Linked DNA regions of Homo sapiens: all the other regions are linked to region 6. The links are contacts of gene promoters, found by promoter capture Hi-C in blood cells and fetal thymus (Javierre and others, 2016). All regions are on one chromosome and are shown on one strand. Each heading gives the region's core, a stretch centred on a gene start or on the middle of the fragment in contact. The rest is flanking DNA. Distances are from core to core; before and after follow the strand shown.

Region 1 (2,700 bases), core at 130-2,629, 510 kb after region 6:
AAGAAATATCTGTAGTAGACTTACACGGTGCTTTCAAGAGGAATCCAAGAATTTCATAGCTAGGTAATCACTGATGAGATCAGCAGATGTTTCTGCTGAATTTATATTAAATGTTCTCTAATCATAGAATTAGATGCCCACAAAAAAATACTACCACCAAATACGATGAGGGCTCTTTATGCTATGAGATTGTTCTCAATCTACCCATTTTTTTGTTGTTTTATTATTTCATTTTATGATATGTTTTGTAGTCTTCATTATCTTGAAACCTGTTTTAATGCCATATTCAGGAAATCAATTGATCAAAGCTTAAATGCAAAGAGCAAATGCAAAAACAATCAAGTGTGTCTAAGATTCTCTTGACCTCATAAAAATGGGTTTGTGGGTATGTTTTCACAAATAAACACTTGTACACAGGCATGTACACATGATGCTTCTTGGGTCAAATATTTGATCATTTAAATGCTAATGAAGATACAACAATTTCTAGAGAGCTTACCGCTCCTCTTAACTTAAAAACTTTTATGTTTAATAGCACTTACAGGATATTCTCACAAGTGACACAGGATGGATTGTGATAACTGGGTTCTCGCCCTCCCTACGCACTGGTTTAGACACACTATAGCCTAGTAGAAATGACTCTCCTCACTACACCCTGAGCCAGGGCAGGAAAGACTCTCTTTCCCCCTGCTAAAGGAGATTAATATTCCTAAGATTCTCTCTCCCCCTGCTAAAGGAGATTAATATTCCTAAGATCTTACATTCAAGAAGAGCACCATTAAAAAGTCACGGACTCAAAGCTAGCAAGACCCTTGACACAATCAAGTCCAACATTTTTCACCATTGTCCCAATCAATGACCTGAGCTCTCCTCCTCTTCACCAAACCAACCCCTGGCCATCCTGTGAGTCTCTCTCTGGTTTTTGCTTCTGTAGAAATTAGATTGGCAAGCACCTTTCCTGTGATTTCACTTGGAATTCTTGCACACCTCTATACCTCTCTCAGGGCATTTACCAAACAATATTGTGTAATCCAAATGTCAACCGTTCCCTCCGCCCCATGGTCAAATTACACTTCTGCAAATAAAAAAATAAAATCACTATTAAATAGGTTTACATCACACAATCTACTACTTATAACTTTAAAATTCTGCTTTTGAATCTGTCTTTTTCAAAGTTCCCTTCTTTACCATTCTCCTTTTGGAAGAAGCATCCTGGCCTCCAGGATTCCCTGGTTATCATCAACACAAAACAATTCCACTTTAAGGCATACCAGATGCATTTTAGTGATTGAAAAAACTACGTCATGCAAATAACCGTATCTACCCTCCCCAGAGAACAATCACACATCAATCCAGTCTAGTGTTTCTTGAGCATGCTCTTTGACATCTTCCCTCCTACTTGAAAAAACAAAAGTATTTCACCATCAGGACTTTGTAGTTCTTTGGTCCAATGCTCTACTAATGTAATTCAACTCCCCTTCAGGTTTCTGCTTTGTTTCCCATTCTCCGTTTCTCCAACAATTGGCCTTTTCGCTCTGTGCTGTCTGCTTGCCATTTTTCCACCTCGAGGTTGCTGCTAACTCATAGTATCTGCCTCCCTCAGAACTCCAGCCTGTACATTAGGTCATCATGGCTTCTCAGCTTCTGCTTCCAATATAGCCTACTTCAAATATCCAAATTAAGAAATCTGATTGTCCTAGCTCATCTTTGAAACCTAGTCTTATCATAACTCATTGCTCAACATAGGTACCAATTGATCTTTTTCTGAGGCCTACCCTATCAAGCCATATATGGTTTTGATAATCCCATGGTAGAAAAATAAGCATCCAGACCTACCCACTCTGCAGCCATTGCTGACAATTTAGTTCATGTTAGACTGAGCCAGAAGGAAGCAACTATCATGGCTGTTGTCTGCTATGCCAATTGAAGGTCTTTTTTGTCTATTGCAATAGCATGTAATCCATAACCCCTGTCTGCATTGTGAGGCAGTGCACCCTCTCCCAGCTCCTATGAGTATGATTCCCTCCCTTCTCCAGGAACTGTCCTCAGCTGATGGGAGCTGCCTCAACCCACAGGGCATTGCCCTTTCCCCTCTAATTCACCTTCCCTCTCCTGCTTCACTTCCTCTCTTACAGAGTTTTTTTCCTGAAGAACACTCCCTCAACAAATCTGCATCTAAATCCTTGTCTCAGGCTCTGCTTTTAGGGAACATAACCTAAGAATCCTGTTAAGTAAACCAGGCTTCTCTTGTAACTCTATTGGAAATAAGCAATTCTGCCAGCTACTTTTGATAGTAATAACTTTGCATTTATTTTTAAATGTCTAGAATGCAGATTGTTTTGATTTCAGACATAGTATCATTCAAATGGGGACATATAATTGCATAATTAATCTATTGAAACACTTTCACGAGTTTGTGAAGGTAAATGAAATCAACTACAACAAGCTTAGCATTTGTATTCATATACATCATATATTTTTAAAAATCAAATTTCCAGGATCAAATTTAATGAAATAGGCTTATGGGAAATAAAATTAAATCATTTATGTCTAAAAAGAAATTAAAATAAAAACATTTTTTAAAGTGCTTTTAAAAAATGGATCAGAATAGTTAGCCTTAGGAAGTAGACAAGAAAAAGGAACCAAAATAGAATCTCACCTTATACAGATAACAAAAGTTGGTATTATATTTAGATTTCA
Region 2 (2,700 bases), core at 91-2,590, 610 kb after region 6:
CTACATTATATTACATGTCAAGTTGCAGACTAGGAAACAATAACCTATATACACAGAGAGAGGAGATATATATATATATATATATATATATATATATATATATATGTATATAGCGAGAGAGACTATACATATATACCCTATGTGTATAGCCTGGATATATGGTGTGTGTGTGTGTGTGTGTGTGTGTGTGTATATATATATATATAAAATAAAGAAAATACAATTAAAACCACAATGAGATACCACTACAAACCTACTAGAATTACTAAAATTTTAAAAAGTTGACATTGCCTAATGTTAGCAAGACATGGAGCTATTGGAACACTCATATACCCTGATCATGGAAGTGTAAAATGTTGCCAACACTTTGGGAGTGGTTTGACGGTTTCTTAAAAGTGGAAAGTAAATTTACGTATGATCTAAAAATATATGTTTTCCCAAAGATCTACAAGATAAATAAAAATACATGTCTATACAAAATCTTGTCTTAAATGTTTATAGCAGTTTTGTATGTAATAGTGAAAAAGCAGAAAACTGGGAACAAACTGAATGTACATTAACAAATGAATGGAAATACAAACTAGATATTTTTATGCAATGGAAAATTACACAGCAGTGAAAAGCAGTGAATTGCTGAGGTACACAACAAAAAGATGAACCAAAAGGTATGCTAAGCAAAAGAAGACAGATGCAAAGAAATACATATAATTTTATTTATCTAAAATTCTAGAAAGATAAATCAAAGTATAGGTATAGAAAGCAAATCAGTAAATACCTGGGGCTAGTGGTGAAGCATAGGGACTGATTAGGAGAGGGCATAAAGAAAGCTTTGGAGGTGTTGAAAATGTTTTATATTTTGTTGCTGATGGCAGTAACATGGAATATATATTTGTCAAAAATCATCAACCTCTACAGTTACCATGGGTGCATTTTGCTGTATGTAAATTATCCTTCAATAAAATTGATTTTAAAAATCCAAAGAAAACCCAAAGTCAAGTCTAATGTTCTTCTGGATACTCACATGAAAGAGTTCCTTACCTCCTTTCAGTCTTTGTTCAAATGTCATCTTCTCAGTGAGGACTTCCCCTACCACTCTATTTAAAATTTCAACCAGGCTTTCCAATTCTTAACCCTTCTTCTACCCTCTTCCCTACGGTGCTTAGTGTCAGCTAATACACTATATAGTTTACCTAGATTGTATATTTATCATTTATTGTCTGCTTTCTCAAACTAAAATGAAATTTCCATAAAGCTGCAAATATTTTATATTTATTTTTATGTTTCGTTCACTGATGCAACCCCAATAGCTATGTACCTTACACACAGCACATGTGCAATAAGTCTGTACTGGATAAATGAATGAAGTTCCAAAGAGCAAATTTTTTCAGAGCAATCCAGTTTTAGCAAGCCACTAGAGGAAAAGTATTGGGATACCTTTGGGTAATCACATTTCTATGTTGTCATATCTAAACAGTCTTTCTCAAATGTATTTGCAGTGTTACTGGTTAAGTCTAAGTAACAATTGACACATAATCTTGGTATTAAACAGGAGAAAGACTGAGAAAAATATTTTTTAAAGGACGCAAAGACCATGGTGCCACAGTCAATGATACAACAAAGGAGCTGACACGTACCCTATTAAAATGTCACTTTAATCACATTTACTCTTAGGAATGCTTTCAAAGTTAATTTACTCTTAGAACCATTCAAGAAGGTTTATTTACCTGTGTCAAAGAAGGTTTATTATATTTACTTTAATCAAGTTATTTAACCTCTCTGGATCCGTTTTCTCAACTGTAAAATGAATAGGGTTTTCAGACTACGTAGAATCATTGAGTTTTGAAGAAGCTTCTGAGAAATCTAAAGGGTGTTTTTGGCAAGTAGAGCTGGGCTTAGGTAATTAATGAAAAATTTTTGGAGCCAAGTCATCAACATATCAGAACGCTAGAGAGAAAATTCACAAATTCCAGCTAATTCTCCGCTTCCCCAAAGCTAAATTGTCCCACTCTTCTTTTGATTCTATGGGTTACCACAGGGATTCTCCCATAACCTCACCCCCTCTTTTAAAAGTATGTTGACCAGGGTCATCCTCTATCATTTGTCACTGAGAATCCTGAATGATAAAGAAATTGGTCCTTGTTGAAGTGGGGTATCACATGCAGCAAATGCTAAAATGTGAAAATAACTGAAGTTTAAATGAGAAACATCAAGGTTTTCTTGCATTAATTGAGAAAATTTCAATTCTTGCTAGTTTAAATAGAAAAAAATGTTTGATTAAGATGCCATCTGTTATATTTTGAAGCCCAGATCAAATGACTAGACTGGACTTCCAGGCTACTGATAGGAAAGGTCAGTATGCTGAAGTGTGTCAGTTACTTCTTTCAAATTTTCATAAAATGTTACAAGACAGCGATGATCCACTGACATAGCTATATGTATAGGTTTTACCACAAAAGTTCATGTGAAATAATTGCTGGGGGTTCCTGTCATTTTTACTGCATTTTCTAAGTGTTTGTTGTAATTGTTAAAATTGTGCTAATGAAAAACTAGCACATTTAGATTATAAAAAAATTTCAATTGTAAATCACATTACTTTTCTATGTCCTCCAATATTGATCGAGATACAGTACATATTATTAATATAGAAGAGCTTAGCTAATTATAATGCAAAGACTCAGATCTTCCCAAGCATTAAATATG
Region 3 (2,700 bases), core at 18-2,517, 840 kb after region 6:
AAAAATCAGACATGGCTAGGATGTCTGCTACCTGTTAAACGAAGCCAAGGACACTGGAAGTTACCCTATGCATTATGCTAAAACTGTTCAGCAGCACTTTCAAAAATTCTTTAAGTTATCAATATCATGTCGCTACAAATGACTGTTTTAAAGAATGGTACAAAGCCACTGTGGTGAAAAAAATCGGCCAACACAACACAAAATAAACAGGAACTGAGAAAGTTTCTAGGTTCTGCCACCACAAGACAACGTGCAGCCGTTCAAAAAGTACACGACGCAAAATGTCAACTAGCTTCCAATGTTAATGAAGTGTTTTATTTTACAAAGAAGTATCTGGCTTTTTATTTTTCGGTTAGGAAGTGAATCCTAACAACTGAGAAATATTAAGGAAAGACTGACCCAAACCAAAACCAAAGCAGGCACAGCGCTCTTCAAGAATCCAAGACTGAAAACACGGACGTCATAACTGGTTCAGTCTTCACCTCCCAGTGGGAGGGAAAGAGAGAATGGATCGTCCCCTTGAAATACTTGGCGGGGAAAGAAAATCAAGTCTAGGTGAGGAAAGCAGGAAGAGCAGAGCAGGAAGAGCTGGCACGCAGCTGAAAGTCTTCCCTCCCCAGAGCCGAACGAGTCCTTCCTTCCTCGCCCCCGGCGGCCGCCACCCCGGCCACGTTGCCCGCCCCGGCCCAGGCACACCTGCCAGAGCCGGGCAGCGACCCCCGCCCGGCGCCACGACCGCCGCCTCCCCACAGCCCTCAGCCCAGGTCGGCCGCGCGGGAGGCGAAAGAAAGGTGGGCTCACCAGGTCCCTCCGGGCTGGACGGCGCCGGGGGCCGGTGGGGCGGGGACCCGCACCCGAGGTCCCCCTGGGCTGGCTCCCTCAGGTAATCTTCGAAGCGCACCTGCCGGGCTTCGCCGCCGCCCCCGAACCCCAACAGGCGGTTGGCCGTGCCCCGCAGAAGGCGCCCACTCTTCTCGGTGAACGTCGTCAGGTAGTCCATGCTGCCGCGGGGCTGGACGCGGAACTGGGGCCCAGGAGGTCGACGGTTTCGGCGGTGGCGGCCACCACTAGCGCGCCCACCGGCCCATCAGACCTGACCCAGGGGAGGCGGCTCCGCGCGCCTCACAAGAGGCGGGGAGGAGGAGGGGGCGTCCCTCTCTCTGCCCGGGGACGGACCATCAGGAAACCACGCGTCGGGGGAGCAAAAGACGGACAAAAGTTTTCGAAAAGTTTTTCTTGTGGCTTCTAAATGCAAAATGAGGCAGAACTTAGCTTGTCACATAGGTGTATTCTTCCTGGAACCGATGCGGGGTCAGAAAACTGATGGCTTTTAAGCAAGCTGGACGGGTCCTCTCAGCGCATTCCCCCACCCGCCTGGCGCCAATGGAGCTGGCCTGGCCCGCCCAGCCCCTCCCCGCCCCGTCCGCGCTCGGACCGGACTTTCAGGACTGCAGGGGAAAGGGTGGACACCCAGCCTCCCGCCAGGTCAGAGCAGAGGCTAAAAATGGCCCAGGGGAGACTGCTGGAGTTGCATGGAGTTCGGGAGCCTAGGAGGGGTCTGAAAATAACTGTCAAAAAGTTTGAAGGGTGTGTGTTGGCTTGGGGAAAAAAGAGGGTGGAGTGCATTACATAAAACTTTTGCAGCTTGTATTTCCTTTTTTTTTTTTTATGTTTAAGGACGGCGGAGATACCTTCAACGTAAGACTGCAATCATAATTAAAACATGAATAGTAACATTTTAAGTTCGTTGTGCCATTATGAACTCATGTTAGTGTTGGACATTCTATGATCCCAGTCCTGTTTAGGCAACGTTATTGAGGGATTTAGTTTGCGGATCTACCTTTCAGGGACAAAGAACCTAGACAGGGAAAGAACAGTAACTTTTGACAGAAATTTTGCTTCCTGTGAGATGTGGTTATTCTCTTCCTTTCACATCTGTTTGTAGTTCTTTTAGTTTTCCCAGGCATTAAATAAATTAAACCCTCTTTCTTGGAATCACCAATATATTAATATATTGGGGGGAAAAAGATTTGAATTACTTAGGAAGTTGATGAACTACCCACTCCAACAATAGAGCCCTGAAAATCAGGCTTAAGCTTTTGGCCATACTACTAAAGACTATCCCTCCTGACAAACACACACCCTCTTTTTTTTTTTTTTTTTTTAACTGGTTGACAGATCTTTTTTGCATCATCACCATTTTCAGTTTAGATTCTTACTAGGTGGGATAAATTTCACCATTCTAATATCAGCCATCACCATTATGCCTGGTGAAAAATACAGAATGTCTGGGCTGCATCCTCAGAGTGTCTAATTCGGTGTTTATGGGAAAGGGACCCAGGAGAATCTGCATACCCAGCAATCCATGTTTTCAGGGTTGTGGCTTGGGAAAGAACTGTTCCAGACTTCTGCACTTCCTAAGGACCTATTTTGTAGATGTTGCAGTGGACGGAATGTTTGTGCTTTCCCTTAAATTCATTTGTTAAAATCCTAACCCCAATGTGATGGTATTAGGAGATGGGGCCTTTGGGAGGTAATTCATAGCATAGAGGCCGCATGAATGCGATTAGTGCCCTTATAAAAAAGGGACCCAGAGAGCTGTCTCCATCTTTCTGCCACAGGAGGATACAAAAATACATCAGTTTGCAAACCAGAAGAAGGTCCTCACCAGAAACCAACTATGCTGGCACCCTGATCTTG
Region 4 (2,716 bases), core at 169-2,668, 650 kb after region 6:
TTTGTGAGATCTTTGTATTAAATATATGTGCATACATTTATTATGTGTATAACAATGTGTGTGTGTTGTAAATTACAATATAAAACTTGTCTTTTCTTACTGTTGGGTTATATTCAAGATAATTTGGAAAGCCATTGGATTAGACAAACTTCTGGTAATGATGATAGTGTGGGGGAAAAAGGCATTCTCATAAGCTTCAAGAGAGAACATGAAACAGTACAACCATTTTAGAGGGTAATTTGGCAATAGGTGTACTGAAAGTCTCAACATTATTCGGAACTTTTGATCTTGTAATTCTGCCCCTCAAAATTTAGCCTAAAGAAGTATTTGATCAAGTACTTAGGCACATATGTTTTTTCACAGCAACATGAATAATAATGAAAACCTGGAAACAACTAAAGGTCAAATGAAGTAATACTCTAAACAAATTTTGTGGCAGGTATATAACATGCAACCAAATTTGCTAGTTGTTATTTACCAATATAGAAAGATATTTATTATAATATTACATAACACAAATGGCATCATCCAATTTTTGTGGTTTTCTAAATTTGTGTCCATAGAGACATTTCTGAAAGGATCTATATGCAAAAACTGTAAAAATCAGTAACTCTGTGGAAGTGGGGAGGCGTTATGGATAAGTTCTGTTTTTCCCATTTCGATTATTTCAAACATGCTTTTTTCTAAAATGAATATGGATTTCTATTTTAGAAACATTGATAATTATTCCAATCTTGTTCAGTCTCAGATACGATGACTTTCAGATCTTACGCCTGGAGACCAACTTCTGACGCTCAGCCCAATTTCTTAAAAGAGTAGTTTGACTTAGGTATGTTATACCCTAAAGTTTGAAAAGGGAAATCAGAATTGTATATAAAGGAGACAAGAAGAAATTGATCCAACTAGAATAGGAGATGCTTTTCATAATTACATTATAAGACTAGATAATAAAAGGAAATCAATATAAAATCAGGCCTTAAGGTTTAGGATTTGCAACATGGACTTGATCTTCATAAGGTAATGTGGAGTCATTTAAGAGGAAGGCATTGATGATGTTTTACCAAACAGTACATCATAATTTCACCTCATGTAACTTTAATACTCTGTGAAAACTAGTTCTGAAGGTCAGTGTGAGAGCCATGCTGCAAAGTAAGAGCGGTGGAGTATGGAATGAAAAGTGAAAGTGACACAGGAGGGTTCTTCATGGAACTCTTTTCTCACAAAATGTCATATTCTATTCCAGCACCTCTTACAGGTACTTAAATCTTTATGACAAGCTTAAGAACATTGCATTTATACACCTACAAATGTCATCTTGAGTCCTAGGATTAATATTCTACTTGAATATCACCTCCATTTTGTGGGGAAAGATCTTTAAAGATTCCTTTTTTTTTTTTTTGCAATGTTTCAAGAATCATGTTTGGAAAATACCATGCCCTAGTGAAGACCTTATATTGTTCTAAGAGAAATAACATAGGCTCTACTCAGTATTTCAAAAGATAAGACCACACATATGTTTTGCATTGACTAAGCCTTAGTCTATGAGTTGGCAAGCTTTTTGTAAAGGGTCAGATAATTATTTTAGGATTTGTGAGACATATGGCCTCTGTTGCAACAGGAGCCATAGACAATGTAAAACAAATGGGAGTGGCTGTGTTCCAATAAAACTTTATTTGCAAAACTTTGTTATTTGCAAAAACAGATACCGGAACCAATTTTGCCCACAAACCAAGGTTTTCCAGCTCCTAACTTAGACAACATAATGTAAACTTTACCAAAACACAAATTTATCCACATTCAGAAATTTACTAAAAAATAACTGAACAGGATATTTGATCATTTAAGAATTCAATATTCTACTAGATTTCATATAAATCATTTATATAGATTTAGTGATTTTCTAGAAAGTTTTTATATTTTACAAAATCCAACAATATAGAAATGGAGATCAGGTCTCATGTTTACAAACTTACTTAGAATTTTAAATTTCATAAAGGTTGAAATTATTCTAAATCTGTTGGAACCTGCAAGCGTTTTAAGTGCATGCTTGGCTGTGCAAAAATGTAGCCTTTTTCTCTATACTGGAAGTTGACTAACTTCATAGCCTTTTCTGCTGATGGTGGAAAATTAGCCAATTCTTGATCAGTTCTCAGTTCAGCTCAAATACTCAGTTCAGGCCCAGGCTCAAAATTCTCTCCCAAATTTTTGGGATTTCTCCTTTATCCAGTTCCTGGATTGACTCTGTAGTCCAGTACCAGGGAGGTACTAGTATCAGCTACTGAATTTTTGTCCCATTTCTCCCCGGGGCACAAATGAGGCATGTTTCTCCCGAATAGTATCCTTAGTTTAACTGACTCCACTTCTTCCCTCTTCCCTGGGTTTTGGGATCTACTAGAATTCTAACGAAGTTTTCTGATGATACCTGAGATAAACTATATATCACACTCTCTCCCACTTCTATTCATGGCCACCTGGTGGCAGGCCTAGGAACACTTCCTCTTGCATATTCTTTGAGACTCCGCCAGTTCTCCAGAACAGTGAGAAAGTCAGATGGGAGATGAGGACAGGGCAGTCCCTGACCTTCTGATTCTCAAATACGTTACATTTGCATTTTCAGCTCTCTCCCCCCATACTGAGCTCAGTGGTATGGGGAGAAAAGGTATGGCTGCTACTGTTCAAGATCTCAAACAGGCAGTAGACGAGTCCATTCTCTCTC
Region 5 (2,776 bases), core at 231-2,730, 580 kb after region 6:
CAGCCTTCCTTGGAGCCTTGACCAGAGCTAATCAGCTGGAAATACATTACTCTTTCATGTATTTGAGTTACCATCTATTCTCCATGCCTGAAATTTTCTTTCTGCTTGTGCTCTTAGGTGAAGTCTTCCTTGACTCATCCCCAGTCCTAACAGAGTTACTGACTCTATCTCTCCAGATGTCTTACACAGACCTAATCCTCTATAACAAACATTATCTATTATTGTCCAGATGCATTGCATCAAAATTATTCAGTTTTGTCTATCTTCACAGCAGATAGCAATATCCTTGTAGGGTAAGTAAAGATAAGCAAAGATGCAAAAACTATTTTTAAGAATGGAAGAAGGGAGGGAAGAAGGAATGTGTTGCATAATAAACAATGATCTATATTGTGCCCCTTATAGAATTTGCCTTCAATTTTCAGGAGATTTTATATGGGGAGAAAAAAGAATAATTTCAGCATCAAACAAGGATCTGAATCAAAATTCTTCTATTAAGCACAATGTATACCAGGGGCCCCAGAGGAGCCAAATCCCTTTTCTTTCCAGGTCCAGCCTCAGTGATTTACAAATGCAGACAATTCTAATCAGTCAGAAATTTTAGGTTGGCTCTGAGCACTATGAGATATGCAGTTCACTGAAAATGTTGCAAATCAAATGAAGCATGTTACATTGGTAATATATACCTGGTTTCATGTGCCACAGCACAAATCTACATAGGCATTAAAATAGACACAAATATCACAAGAGGATAGCAGATATCTCTCTGCCCCATTTAACACACACAACTTTTTCTTGTTTCTTGGAGATTGAGCTCTTGTTTCAGTTTTTTATTGCCTATCAATCAGCTTGAGAAGGCATCTGCAATTGTGTTTCGTTCATGAAGATATAAATCCTGGCAGCAGCAGCCTACAGACATCGAAAAGCTCCATTCTAAATTACCTTTGTCAGACTGTATAGAAAGTAAAAGGCACACTTCAGTCTTATTTTATTAAACAGGGGACGTACCAGCCAGCCTAAAAATGGAAAATCCTTTTCATTGACATGCTCCATTAACTGCATTTCTCTGAAAAAAAATATATATCTCAGTGCACTTCTTTACCTCTGCTCCTCTAATTACTGCTTACAAATTCTTTTCTCTCAATCATGCTATCTCCCATAAATCAGGAAGCAAAAACATTTGCAGCTGAGTCCCTAGCTATAATTTAACATGATATGCCACAATGCCACTATTATGCCAAAAACTAATAATATACCAGTCACCATGGGAACCAGGGCATGAAAAGGTGAAAGTCCTCCTTTACACAAGATGGGTGGGACTTTTATGGAGCCATGTGTCCCACCAACATCATGAGCTATACTATTCTGGCAAAATTCCTTAGACTCAGCTGATTCTCAATCCCAGAGAAGTGTTCATCCATCCTGCATTTCCTGATATTTAACTTGCAATTCGTCTACACCCCCAAAGGAGATAAATTATAGGGTAATCATTCATATTATGGACAGGTTTTTCATTATACATTCACTGCCAAGAAAAATAGCATATGACAAAACATTAAAAGATCAACTTAAAAAAGAGAGCAACTGAGAGTTATCACTACCATTAAATTAGTTTATTTCACTTTACAAAAGCACTGATGGATCTTAAGGTTCTATACTGTACTTCCCAATTCTTATGGACACATTCAAGATTGATAATTTCAAAGTTGGAAAATGTGGTCACAATGTTAAAGGTTGATCAGAAAAGAATTAAATATCTCTATAGTTATAAATCAGTGGGAAGGAATTATTTCATTTTCCAAAATATTAATTCACATAGTGATTCTGTGATAAGACTTGTTTCAGTGAGGAAAACCTGTTCTAGCACATGCATTCATACCTGTGCCCCCTACATACAAGGAAGGAGCTCCCATATAATTCTGTTCTGCAAATATTTCTTGCTCACTACTCTCCATTTCTATCTTATTTGCTCGGCTTTGGCCTCATGAAAACAGAAAATTTCAATTACAGGGGAAAAAATAATTGGATTTCTACCATAAGGAAAATATTTCTTAGAGGAGAAGGCAAAGAAAATGCAGGGGACAATACTAAAATGATAATATATAATGAGTTTGGATAAAAGTCAACTCAGCTGTATGTATGGTATTGAATGATATGACTCATTTATTTTTCTGCAAAGTTTTGTCCATGATTTCAAGAACTGAGCTGAAATTCTCTTTTGTTATAGTTCTATAAAATTTAAAGTAAAAATTGGTGCACAAATGCATTGCTGCTTACCAGAGTAGACAAATCTTTGCCACACATGTTGATTTCATTGTGATTCAAATGATTGCTAACAGTCTTGAGTTCATTAAATTTAAAACATATTTTATGGAATATTTTGTTCCTTCAATGTGAAAACCATGTGTGCTTTAATAAAAAATTTAGTTCAAGAGAGTTCAATTCCATTTCAAATTATTAACATTTAAGTGATTTTCTTGATGTTAACCAATAAAGTCAGCTAAACCTGCAGAATAATGTTGCATGAGATGTTTTGCAGTTAATGGGAGGCCAAAGTTAGAATTAGTGTCCTATGGAAGGAGTGGAAACATTTGTCCATGTACGCCAAGAAAGTAACCATGAAATTTTGAAAGATAATGGTGGATTAGAGGGTGCAGATTTCTTGCAAATGATCTTCAAATGATTTGGCACATTTATTTTGCTCTTTTTGTGACTAAATAAATACATATGTCTCTCACATATATCCTTTCTAGTTGTGTGTATGTACGTGTGTCTACAT
Region 6 (2,700 bases), core at 92-2,591:
TCCCCAAGTAAATCGCATTTGTTCTGGAATTTGTTTTGACCTCTCCTCTAACTTCTCCCTAAATGCCCATCTCTAACCACTACGGACCTTCACCCACTGCCCTGTTCTCCTTCCAAGACATGGGAGATGACAGCTGTGGCTTCTGTTTTCACACCATGACTGCAGTTGTCTAAAAGCCCTCCCAGTTCCTAATGAAAATCCCAACTCATAATTCAGGTTTTCTGCATCTAGTAAAGATCTCAAAGCCGTTCCCTAAATTCTACAATTATTGCCTGTTTATGTTTATGGGTCCCTTTGTTCAAATGTTTATACGCTGCCTGTGGGAAATCATCTTCTGATAATTTTTCTTTCTTCCTTCACAGAAGCACAGAGATGTCTCCTGTACAGCCCATTGCTGGCTGTTAGCACACCTGATATATGCTTGTTCTCACATAGTATGTCTGTGCAGCCACAGGAGGTTTTTATGTGGAACTTCCACACCAGTGTTAAAGACAGCCATAGCCACCAAAGAGATCCTTGTAAAATACAGGATTAGGATATACCACAGGAATTAATAATTCTCAAGCCACTGCTTTAAATTGTAGCCACATTGTTTTTGTAGGGAAGTTGCTCAATTTATATACACAGAACATGAAGGGTTGCATTCTGATCAGGACACCAGTTTCATTTAAGAACCCTATACCAAAAGGTACTTAGATAACCCTCTTTAATATGCACATACTATATTGCTTTGTGCAACATATTGCTTTGAGCAACAAATGATGCTAATTTTCTTGCTAATTTGATCCTCTCTGATTATTTTCTTCAACTCCTAAAAGTCTAAGTGAATACAATGAAAGAATACCATCTGTAAAAACTGTTTTTTAACATATTTTTCCTCAGAGTCAAGAATACATGTTTTTTAAAGACATTTAATAATGATATGGGTTTATCATTCTCTATCAAAAATAATTCCATTGGACATTATGCCAATTTTCTTCTTAGGGTCCCTCGACTAAATAGTAACTTTAAAAACATACTGCTAGTTTGCTATATTTTAGTAGGTCAGCATGCACACCAAAAGTGTATTAAGGTGGACTGCTCTATTTATTGATTTGCCATGAATCTGCTAAAGGCTCAAGGCAATTGTCTGTGGAAAGGGGCGGGAGGGCCATACATGATCGAGGTCATGCGCATCTAGCCAATTTGTAAGACGATCCCGCCGCCCTAAGCCATCAGCAATCCTTAGTATAGGGGCACACTCATGCATTCCTGTCAAGTCATCTTGTGAAAGGCTGCCTGCTTCCAGCTTGGCTTGGATGTGCAACCTTAATAAAACTCACTGAGGTCTGGGAGAAAATAGCAGATCTGCAGCAGATAGGGTAGAGGAAAGGGTCTAGAATATGTACACGCAGCTGACTCAGGCAGGCTCCATGCTGAACGGTCACACAGAGAGGAAACAATAAATCTCAGCTACTATGCAATAAATATCTCAAGTTTTAACGAAGAAAAACATCATTGCAGTGAAATAAAAAATTTTAAAATTTTAGAACAAAGCTAACAAATGGCTAGTTTTCTATGATTCTTCTTCAAACGCTTTCTTTGAGGGGGAAAGAGTCAAACAAACAAGCAGTTTTACCTGAAATAAAGAACTAGTTTTAGAGGTCAGAAGAAAGGAGCAAGTTTTGCGAGAGGCACGGAAGGAGTGTGCTGGCAGTACAATGACAGTTTTCCTTTCCTTTGCTTTCCTCGCTGCCATTCTGACTCACATAGGGTGCAGCAATCAGCGCCGAAGTCCAGAAAACAGTGGGAGAAGATATAACCGGATTCAACATGGGCAATGTGCCTACACTTTCATTCTTCCAGAACACGATGGCAACTGTCGTGAGAGTACGACAGACCAGTACAACACAAACGCTCTGCAGAGAGATGCTCCACACGTGGAACCGGATTTCTCTTCCCAGAAACTTCAACATCTGGAACATGTGATGGAAAATTATACTCAGTGGCTGCAAAAAGTAAGTGATTGCTTTCAGTTTCTAATAGCACGGACCTTTTTCCTTTCTTGCACTGCAGCTAACTTAAAGTTCCTTAGGGGAGCATTTGTGTATTTACCTTTTGCTCCAGGGGGGCAGTGTTTGCAATTGCAAGACGGCTGTCTGGGTTTGGCTTCCTGGGTAAGCCAAGGTTTGGGGGCTTGCCCAAACCTATGAATGTGTGGGGGCACCCCGTTTGTGTGTCTAGCCCTGGCAAATTTTATGACATTTTTGGTTTCTCTTTTCTAAAGTTCAGCATTAAGGTTCTCTCTGTCAAAACACTACCTTAAGAAAGAAAGTATGTACCTCTTAAGCAAGTTGGTGAAAAATAAATAATAATGACAATATTAATTAATAAGATCAAATCGATTTTGCACCAGAAAATTTTGTGCCGCTGGGGTGGCAAATCATCACAAAGTATTTGTTTTTTTAACCTTTATAAAAATTAACATGAAGTGAGAGTAAATATAAAATATGATATTTGGTTGGAGAAATTGTATATTTATGTAAAGGGAACTGTTAGTTTCAGCAAGTGGTAGAATAGTAGACTGATTTCTGTTAAATATTTTTTTCTTCTGTCCTTGAGAAAAAAAATTAAAAAGATACATTGTAATGTTAACTGTCGGAAAGGGGTTGCTCGCTCACGATGAGGGCATGCTGGCTGTTGAGGAAGACATGCACCTGC
Region 7 (2,738 bases), core at 222-2,721, 560 kb after region 6:
GAGAAGAACTTCAAGCCACACAAATCCTGCAGGAACCCTCACCCAAGCTCCAACCCCTAAATGCAATAAAAATCAAAGCCAATTTTTCCTTCTGTTTTGCAAACCATTTTAAATGATCCTATTGCTTGAGTATAAAAACTTTTCCTATCCCATTACTGCATGTGTGGCATCATCAGTCTCAGCATCTGAACCAATTTTGAGAGGTATAATTGGCGCTACAAGCAGGAAGTTCTACATGATGACTCCTACTTCCTGGGTCTTTCTTCTTTTGCCTTTGGCTTGCCAGCTGGATCATTTGTTGTTACAAACATGCCCTTTGACCTGTTGTCTGCTGACTCATGCAAGCTTTGAGCTGTGTGGCTGTCTGCTGTCAAGCTTGTATTTTGAGCATTCCCATGTTCTGATCCACTTGTAGAGTCCTACTCTGAGCGTCTGTTATAGACTTAACCTACCTAAGTCATATGTTCCAATAATTAGCATTTAGGGACAGGAGTATGAAATTGAGGCCTGCTTTATAGTGAATCTGGGTTGTATGCCTTGGCCAGGACCTATCCATCTGTCTCAGGTTGAATCATGTCTCAATCCCAGCATCATCAGTAAATTAAAGTTGGGCCATTCGTCATCACTGACAAATTGCCCCATTTTGAACTGGGTCCTCTACAAAAAAAGAGGGGGCAGGTGGGGGCAGTAGTCTCTAGAATCCATCCAGATTGCTATGCAACAGGAACTCCCATTAGTATGCCAGAGACCCCTTCCTGTAGAGGCTTTACCAACCTCCTCTCAGGCCTCCTAGAGCCACTGGACCAACCATAGTGGCCATAGTTGCCCATGTGTTTCTGACGCAAGAAACTGCCCTTCCCAGCCCAATGCCACATTGCAGTGGAGCAGCAATTTCTGGCCTCATACAAGGCCCTTCTGGAGATGAAGGCTTCCACAAGCCCTGAGCCTATGACTCTCCAAACTTAGCTGATTGTTATGTCTCAGGTTGTAGGGACAGAACCCTGAAGTCTTGGCATGGCCAATGACCTCCTAATGAAAATGGAAATTGTGCTTCCAGATAGACCCAAACCTGGACCCTCTGGCATATTCCACCTATGAGAGGAAGCAGCTTCCCCTGTCCTCATTCCGTTGTCATGTACGATGACACCAGAGGAAGGTCATCCCTCTTTGGACCCAGTGACCACTTAGGAGGCCCACAGGAGTCAACTGAGTGATCAGAAAGGGTGTTCATAACCTTTAGAGATATCACATGTGTTGAAGCTCCCTGGAGAGCTTTTGCTGTCTATCCCCCAACTGGGATATCCCTGATCAAAGACGAGATCCAAGGGTTACAACAACTGACCAAACTTCAGGCAATCGCCTTAGCACTAGAAGATGACTTGGACAATAGGAAGCTCTTTCTGCACATTTTTACAGACTCTCGGGCTATTGACAATGGTCTGGCTAACTGATCCAATTAATGCTAACAGCAACAGTTCCTTCTCTGAGGTTATCCCGTTAGAAAGAACTCTGGGAATTCTTTGTCCCACAGATACCTAAAATACACACCAAAGTCACACCTATCTCTCTGTGCCCTGAGGCATGACACAAGGCCTCACCAAGACATTCCTTATACCCTTCAGTTCTAGTCATTTTTGATGGTGACCAAGGCATTCATTTTATTTCTCAAAATACAAAACACTGGGCCATTCGCCAAAGCCTTGAATGGAACTTTTACATTCCTTACCAGGCTCAGGGTGCAGGCCTCACAGGATGCCAGAATAGCCTATTTAAGTTCAAATTTCATTAAATGAGACATGGCACATTTCCATCATTGATCAGGTATCAGGAATGAATTGTAATAAAGAGTCTGACTCCAGTTTTGGTGTTTGTTCACTGACAGCGTTTAAGGCCCACCCCTTCTCTTGCCCCTTTTGCCCCACATCTGGGCAGGCCCATAAGAAAGTCTTTTGGTGCCAGCAGGAAATTCAAACCACACAAGTGGCTGGCCCTGCACAGGAACACTCACCCCAGCTCCAATCCCTAACCACAATCAGAACCATCACCTCTCACCTCTCGCATCACTGGAGCCTTTGCAGATTGGCTTGGGTTTCTGCCATGCTCTCCCAGAAAGTCCTGTTATGTAAATTAAAAGCCTTTCCATACCATCTTTGTGTGTGTGTGGCTTTATCAGTCTGCACATTCAAAACTATTTTGGGTGAGGGGTTGATACCACTCTTCAGTGGCAAACACAAAACATATACCTATAACTTTGGGCACTTGTCTAATTATTTCCATATGAAAAATTCCTAGAAGTAAAATATTCATGGCTTGCAATTTTTAAAAGTTTACTCTTTACCTAGCAATGTAAATTGAGTATCTGTTTCTTGTAAATATCAAATAAGATACTCTTTATCCTTGCTAGTCTCATAGATGAAAAATGTATCTTATTGTTTAACTTAAATTTATTTGATTCTTAGTGGTATTAAGCATGTTTTCCAAATTATTTCCTATTCCATTTATCTATATTTTTTATTTCATGTACTTTCTATTTATATAATTTGTCCTTTCTTCCTATTGAAGCTTTTTTTCTTAACTCTGAGGAAATTTATATGTTGATATTAATCCCTTGTATATACTTACAAACACATAGAAATATATAAAAATTGTATATACAAAATATAAACAAAAAATACAAAATAAAAATACAAAAAAAATTCTATGTTACAAATATATACAAAATAATGTTTGTCAACTGT

What was found. The method cuts DNA at HindIII sites, captures the fragments that hold promoters and counts their contacts. A CHiCAGO score of 5 or more calls a contact.
Region 1: a contact is called between a fragment that was not itself captured here and the fragment with the promoter of ANGPT1 in region 6, in 1 of 17 cell types (erythroblasts). The highest score is 5.5, in erythroblasts.
Region 2: a contact is called between a fragment that was not itself captured here and the fragment with the promoter of ANGPT1 in region 6, in 2 of 17 cell types (erythroblasts and endothelial precursors). The highest score is 5.4, in erythroblasts.
Region 3: a contact is called between the fragment with the promoter of OXR1-AS1 here and the fragment with the promoter of ANGPT1 in region 6, in 1 of 17 cell types (monocytes). The highest score is 5.6, in monocytes.
Region 4: a contact is called between a fragment that was not itself captured here and the fragment with the promoter of ANGPT1 in region 6, in 1 of 17 cell types (endothelial precursors). The highest score is 6.9, in endothelial precursors.
Region 5: a fragment that was not itself captured here is called in contact with the fragment with the promoter of ANGPT1 in region 6 in 1 of 17 cell types (fetal thymus); the score reaches 5.6 in fetal thymus.
Region 7: a fragment that was not itself captured here is called in contact with the fragment with the promoter of ANGPT1 in region 6 in 1 of 17 cell types (erythroblasts); the score reaches 6.7 in erythroblasts.

The regions. Positions count from the first base shown.
Region 1 is chr8:106,984,574-106,987,273 of GRCh38, reverse strand. No RefSeq gene overlaps it. Among named protein-coding and RNA genes, the nearest start is that of ABRA, 220 kb to the right of the region's middle. The HindIII fragment of the contact is 2,138 bases long and covers 311-2,448 here.
Region 2 is chr8:106,886,103-106,888,802 of GRCh38, reverse strand. No RefSeq gene overlaps it. Among named protein-coding and RNA genes, the nearest start is that of ABRA, 120 kb to the right of the region's middle. The HindIII fragment of the contact is 1,021 bases long and covers 830-1,850 here.
Region 3 is chr8:106,656,287-106,658,986 of GRCh38, reverse strand. It overlaps OXR1-AS1 (OXR1 antisense RNA 1), which reads left to right and starts at 1,267. Exons shown (of 3, transcript XR_007061059.1): 1 at 1,267-2,700. All of the region lies in intron 3 of OXR1 (oxidation resistance 1), which reads right to left. RefSeq lists silencers at 657-806, 847-1,096 and an enhancer at 1,167-1,376. The HindIII fragment of the contact is 2,439 bases long and covers 1-2,098 here.
Region 4 is chr8:106,845,842-106,848,557 of GRCh38, reverse strand. No RefSeq gene overlaps it. Among named protein-coding and RNA genes, the nearest start is that of ABRA, 77 kb to the right of the region's middle. The HindIII fragment of the contact is 277 bases long and covers 1,280-1,556 here.
Region 5 is chr8:106,914,463-106,917,238 of GRCh38, reverse strand. No RefSeq gene overlaps it. Among named protein-coding and RNA genes, the nearest start is that of ABRA, 150 kb to the right of the region's middle. The HindIII fragment of the contact is 4,869 bases long and covers 1-2,776 here.
Region 6 is chr8:107,496,559-107,499,258 of GRCh38, reverse strand. ANGPT1 (angiopoietin 1) reads left to right here and starts at 1,341. Exons shown (of 9, transcript NM_001146.5): 1 at 1,341-1,997. The coding sequence starts at 1,701. The HindIII fragment of the contact is 4,855 bases long and covers 1-2,700 here.
Region 7 is chr8:106,933,176-106,935,913 of GRCh38, reverse strand. No RefSeq gene overlaps it. Among named protein-coding and RNA genes, the nearest start is that of ABRA, 160 kb to the right of the region's middle. The HindIII fragment of the contact is 2,187 bases long and covers 378-2,564 here.